Regions from separate parts of the Homo sapiens genome. Here region 1 is linked to region 2. Evidence: promoter capture Hi-C in 16 types of primary human blood cells and fetal thymus (Javierre and others, 2016). All regions are on one chromosome and are shown on one strand. Each heading gives the region's core, a stretch centred on a gene start or on the middle of the fragment in contact. The rest is flanking DNA. Distances are from core to core; before and after follow the strand shown. Region 1 has its middle 34 kb from the start of POLD3. Region 2 holds the start of PGM2L1 (phosphoglucomutase 2 like 1).

The links. The method cuts DNA at HindIII sites, captures the fragments that hold promoters and counts their contacts. A CHiCAGO score of 5 or more calls a contact.
Region 1: a fragment that was not itself captured here is called in contact with the fragment with the promoter of PGM2L1 in region 2 in 2 of 17 cell types (megakaryocytes and neutrophils); the score reaches 5.3 in megakaryocytes.

What each region holds. Positions count from the first base shown.
Region 1 is chr11:74,557,043-74,560,129 of GRCh38, forward strand. No RefSeq gene overlaps it. Among named protein-coding and RNA genes, the nearest start is that of POLD3, 34 kb to the right of the region's middle. The HindIII fragment of the contact is 203 bases long and covers 1,406-1,608 here.
Region 2 is chr11:74,396,952-74,400,054 of GRCh38, forward strand. It overlaps PGM2L1 (phosphoglucomutase 2 like 1), which reads right to left and starts at 1,482. Exons shown (of 14, transcript NM_173582.6): 1 at 1,100-1,482. The coding sequence starts at 1,210. MIR548AL (microRNA 548al) reads left to right here and starts at 2,286; the gene lies at 2,286-2,382. RefSeq lists enhancers at 1-132, 1,224-1,845, 1,577-1,946, 1,846-2,466. The HindIII fragment of the contact is 3,289 bases long and covers 267-3,103 here.

The sequences.
Region 1 (3,087 bases), core at 257-2,756, 160 kb after region 2:
CCTCAATGACCTTTGCACTTGTATAATCTCCCCTTTGAGTGTAGGTGGAACCTGTGAATCTGGTGACATCACTGTTGTCATTCTGTTAAGTGGCAAGAGAGATTATCTTGGGTGGGCCTGACCTAATCAGGGAAGCCCTTTAAAAGAAGATAATTTTCAGCTGGGTGCGGTGGCTCATGCCTGTAATCCCAGCAGTTTGGGAGGCTGAGGTGGGCAGATCATGAGGTCAGGAGATGGAGACCATCCTGGCAAACACGTGAAACCCCGTCTCTACTAAAAATACAAAAAAAAAAAAAAAATTTAGCCGGGCGTGGTGGCAGGTGCCTGTAGTCCCAGCTACTCGGGAGGCTGAGGCAGCAGAATGGCATGAACCTGGGAGGCGGAGCTTGCAGTGAGCCGAGATCGCGCCACTGCACTCCAGCCTGGGCAACAGAGCAAGACTCTGTCTCAAAAAAACAAAACAAACAAACAAAAAAGAAGATAATTTTCTCCATCTGGCTGCAAAAGAGGAAGCCAGAGAGATGCACTGTGGCTGGTCTGGAAGAAAGCAACATCTGTGCTGTGAACTGCATATGGGGGCATGTAAGTCTGCTAGGGCGCCATAACTAAATACCATGGACTGAGTGGCTTAAGACAACAGCAATTTATTTTCTCACAGATCTGGAGGCAGGAAGTCCAAGATCAGGGTGCCAGCATGGTCAGTTTCTGGGGAAGGCTCACTTCTTGGCTTGTAGTTGGTCACCTTCTTGCTGTGTCCTCACTTGGTCTTTCCTCAGTGTGTGTATGCAGAGAGAGAGAGTGAGCTCTGGTGTCTCTTCTTATAAGAACACTAAACCTATTGGGTCAGGATCTCGCCCTTGTGACATCGTTTAACCTTAATTACCTTCCAAAGGCCCCATCTCCAAACTGTCAGATTGAGGTTAGGGCTTCAACATGTGAATTTTAGGGGAACACAATCATTCAGTCCATAACAGAGGGCCATGCGACAAAGTATTTTGAGTGGCCTATAGGAGCTGAGAGTGGTCCCCGGCTGATAACCAGCAGGACAATGGTGACCTCAGTCCTACAACCATAAGGAACTGCATTCTGCCAATAACCAGTGAGCCTGAAGGAGAACCCTGAGCCCTATACATGACCAGCACTTTCAGTCCAGCCTGCTGAGATCCTGAGCAGAGAATTGAGTCATGCCCTACGTCGACTTCTGGTATACAGAAGCAGAAATAATAAATTTGTAATAAGTGGCTAAGTTTGTGATAATTGTTTATGCATCAGTATAAAATTGTTTATTATCAATACAAAAATAATATAAATTTTATAATATATATTTTTAAGGAAAAAATACAAAATTACAAATACAAAATCTGTGAGACTAAAGAGGTCTGTAAGTGAGGAACCCTGAAATTTAAGCTTCATTAGTTTCAAGGTAAGTCTGTCTCTGCCTCCAAGAAGGAGAGAAGATGAAGGAAAAAGAGTGTCAACTACAATACGATGTTGCTGTTTTGGGCAGGACAAATGCCCAAAACCAATTCTATCTCTTTGAAAGGCTTTAGGGGAACCTTTAAGGGATCCTCCCTTGGAGCCCCCAACTATACTTCCCTTGAGAAGCAAAGCTTCTCCTCTGGCTTGGCTCCTGAACTTTAGCAGTCCATCTTCTCTGTTGGGGTCCCAGTGCCCTCAGTGCAATTCTTTTGAGGACAGACCTGTTTTAGGAAGATCCTAGGTCAGATCCCTTCTTCCAGGTCTACCTCAGTTCCTAGGAAAAACCTGCTTTTGCCCCATGGCCAGTGGGAGAAGGGTTTGCTCTCAGCCCAACCATCTCTCTCTAGTCCTACAAATTCCATTCAGTCTCTAATATTTAAATTCCTCAAGAATATGTCAAACTCCATATCTTATGATTCCCAAACTTCAGTGCAACATGTCAAGCTCTCTGAGTGGTTTTCTTGAAGTCCCCAGTTTCCTTTGGCTTAAGGAAGGAGGAGAATATGGCTCCCCTCCCCTGTGTACCGATTGTCACCCAGTTATTAACAGAAAGAATAGGGATTCAGGAACCCTGAGCTCTAGTCTGGGTTCTGATACTAACTCACTGTGTGTCCTTGGGAAATGTCCTTTTCCATTTCGGGCCTTGCTTTCCTGACAGCTCACTTAAATGAAAATGTAGGACTAGATCCACTCATTTATTCAGTAAATGTTTATAGAGTCCCTATTACGTGTCAGGAACTGTCTGGGTATGAGGAATCATCAGAAAACAAACTAGCTGACTTCTCAGGCCCTACCAGCCCTCACATTCTCTGATGCTTCTCCCCCACCTAGTTCCCACTCACCCCTCAACAATGAGTGGTCAAGTTCTGGCTGCGATCATGACTGCTTTTCCACCTCAGCAGTGTATAGCCTCTTCTTGCAGGGATATTTATTTATTTATTTATTTATTTCTGACAGGGTCCTGCTCTGTTGGGTGCAGTAATGCGATCAGGGCTCACTACAACCTGGACCTCCTGGGCTCAAGTGATCCTCCTGCTTCAGCCTCCCAAAGTGCTGAGATTATAGGTGTGAGCCGCCATGCCCAGCCCACAGGGACCTTTGATGGGACTAGGGGTAAGCTTCCTTTGAAGGCAGCATTGCTGTTTTGGTTACTGCCCATCAACCTGGGCTGTCTGGCCTGGAAGTACTGCCTGGCCAACGACAATGGAAAGGTTTATTTGCAGAGGCCAGGAAGTCCCCATGACCCCTCTCCATTCACCTCTGAGACAGGAAGCCCCAGGAGGAAAAAACAAAAGATGAAATGCTGGCTGACTTCCCAGCTTCCAAGTGCTCAGCCGCACTCTGGACTGGAGGATCCCTTCTGCCCAGTGGACAGGGACCTCTTTCAGCAGCTCCTTCCTTGTCATTGATCCCCAGGGCTTCAGTTCCTGTCCTGAGGATCCAGAAGGACTTAGGTGACGTAAAAGAGGTATGAAATGAAGATTGAGTCTCTGGGAAAGGATGCATGATGTCTTATCCTAAGCTAAGCCTCCATGTCTGGGAAGTGGGGGGAGGCTGAATGCACAGAGTGGGAAAAATATTCTCAGTGGTTAAGGAAGCAAGTGACTC
Region 2 (3,103 bases), core at 232-2,731:
AACCCTTTCTATTTTCCTCACAAGTATTTCCTGGGTCTAACAAGACCTAAAACACGCACTCAGCATTCAATATTTTTTTGCTGAATGAATGAATGAATAAAGTAAAAACAAAACTTTCAGAAAGTGAAGCCTTAAGGAAATTCATTTGTACAACATAATGTCACATACTACCATACAAATTCCTTAATTCAGTGTCATTAATTCCATTTTAAATGTGCTGCCTTCTCTACTTCAACAAAGGTATTTTACGCACTTGACAAAGCAAAAGCTTGGATTATCTTCCTCTGTTGGAGCTACCAGGGACCTCTTTTACAAGTAAGATAGCTGCATTTTAATTCTGATTGTCACAAATTCATCCCAAATGCCCGCACGAGGTTTAATTACCACCACAACTTGGAGGTGGGGGCGGAGGGTGGGTGGGGAGGTGTTGGTAGAGAAGTAATGGTTAAGGCAAAAACAATCCTGTATTAAGAGTACCACATGAAACCTGGAAAACACGATTCCTTGAACAGATTAATTCCAGAAAATAGCTGCCAGCAGGAGAAAGAAGAGGTAAGCGCCTTGCCTTTCCCAACAGCAAAAGGTGATACTAGACAATACCAGGGAGTGATAAAAGGCCAGCAACTACCTAGCGACAGAAGGAGGAAACACACCAGACCAGAACTAAAGCGGATAGCGGTTAGAAACGCCCAGTAAGGGTGCCAGAAACCACTTTCAGGTATGTGGAGAAGGAAGTCAAGGGAGAAAAAGGGAAAGGAAATCGTTGTTTAGGGTATAACTTACAATGATGATGATTTTTTTTTTTTTTTTTTTGAAGAAAGAGGGAAGACAGCACTTGAAAGGAAAGAGGGTAAAGAAGAGGAAGGGAGGTTACAATTGAGAGCACTGCAGAAGGAAGCGATGCAGATGTTGCCGCCCGGCTCTGGCAGTCCGAAGGAGCAACCCCACGCATAGGTGGGTGGCAACGCCCTGCTCCGCTGCCCCCCGCTCGGTGTCCCGAGCCATCTCCTCTGCAGCCCGCGGGGCGCTGGGTGGGCACAGGAAAGAGCAGACTGTGTGGGGGAGGCGACGGCGTTTGCCGGGCTGACCAGGTACCCACCTTATCCCAGCGGAGCCACTGCCCGATGGCCGTGTCCAGCTGAGGGTCCCCGGTGTGGTAGGGGGCGTGGAGCAGGTTGGAGTTCAGATCCCCCTCTGTGTTTTCAGCCATGGCGACCAGACAGGCGTACGGGCCGGGGGCCGGCGAAGACACTGAGTTGGGGTGGGGGGTGGCTTGGGGTTCGCTCACCAGGGTCCAGGCGTCCCCACCTCACTGAAGGGCATCGGAGACCAACCGCAGGGTGTTCGTAACAGCTCCTGCCGCGGCGTCAGGGAACCGGGAGAGAGGGGGTTTATGGCCGCCTGCTCCCCAGCGGACCAGGTCCGGGTCTCTGGGCGAAGTGACTGAGGCGGTCGCGCCGCGAGAGAACAACAGTCCCAGATGTCTGGGTCCTGGCTCCGCCGCCGCCGCCGCCGCCCGCCCCGCCTACGGCCCCGCCCCGCGCCTTAGGCCCCGCCCCTTCCCGCCCTTGCTGATTTAAGTCCCCGAAGTTCTAGACTGGAGCCCGGGAGCGCGCTCCCCACGCCTCCGAAGTAGTGGGGGTTTACAGCCCGTCCGGGTGGTGAGGCAATAGTGCACGGTTCTTTTTATTTTTTAATTTGCCAAGGGTCTCCTTTCCTCGATCTGCTCTCACGGCTACCACTAGCAAGCTGCCTTTGCGCTTGCCCTGCAGGTCCCCAGCGCGCGCGCAGGCCCCCAGTTTCTCTTGGGGGCACGCGCCGGTTGGGGGAGGAGGGGCAGTGCGAGCTGTCCGCGCACTGCCTCACGGGAGTTGTAGTTCTTTCCTTTGTCTGAGCTCAGCGGAGACCGCCGCCGAGACTACGACTCCCAGCAGCTCCGCGTTCCCCCTTTCCTCAAAAGAAAAAGATCTACCTCGAGGTAGTTCCCTACAGACACGCCCTATCCCTATTAGTTATGCTGCGCTGTGTGGCCCTGGCATTAAATTAAACAAGGAATGACATAGTAAGGGGACAAAGTGGTATCCGTTTAGTGCTGTGCAGTTTACGAATCGCGTTCTATCGCCTCAATCCCTCAGTAAGGTACAGGGGCGTAGTCCTTTTCCGTTTCACACACAAAGAAGAAACTGACTCCCTGAGACACCTCTCCTAAGAGGCCGAGTTCGTGAGCGGTCAAACTAGGGTTCCAATCTCATTTCAGATCCCCTCAGCTGGCAGTTATTTTATTAGGTCGGTGCAAAAGTAATTGCTGTTTTTGCCATTAAAAATAATGGCATTAAAAGTAATGGCAAAAACGGCAATGACTTTTGTACCAATCTAATATCTCTGCTGCTATAGTAAACTAGGAGGTAGGGAGAACAAGATTACTGGAAAATAGATAAGGAAGTTGTTGAGGGAAGATGGTCGGCATTTAACCTAAATATAAGAATGTATAAGCATCACAAGATACCAAGAGCAATGGTAATGGGAATACGGAGGAAAAGGAAATTGGTTCACCCAAATTGAAATAGTCTTCCGTTACTTCTTAGCCGTCTCTCCTATGGAAAGCTCACCTAAGTTGAGGTCTGGGAAATGCTGAGAAGTGCTGACCTGTCAGCCACCTAGCTACTCCTCCGTTTCTTGGTTTGGCCTTCTTAGAATGGCTATGATTTTGGGCAAGTACATTACAACTCTTTCCCTAGTCAGCTTTTTTGTAAGGAAGGTATGATAATATTTACATCATGGCTGTACAGTAACTTAATAAATGGCATTAGGCTGCTTTGAGGTTCACAGATAAAAGACATATTAAGTTCAAAGTATTACTTTATTTCCTTTAAAGTGCCATTTACCATAATAAAATTCAAACTACCAAGGTACAAAAGGATTGTGGTACCAGTTTCTGAAAAACGTGCCATAGTTGGGAGTTGCAGTTTTTGCTAACGATTGTTTCTTTTGTGGAGTCAGCAGGACTCTTGTTCTTTTAATCACACAAGGCCTGGGCAACAGTCACGTGTCCTGGAGAGAAATTCATCTTCCACTACCATCACCATTATTATCCATGATACAT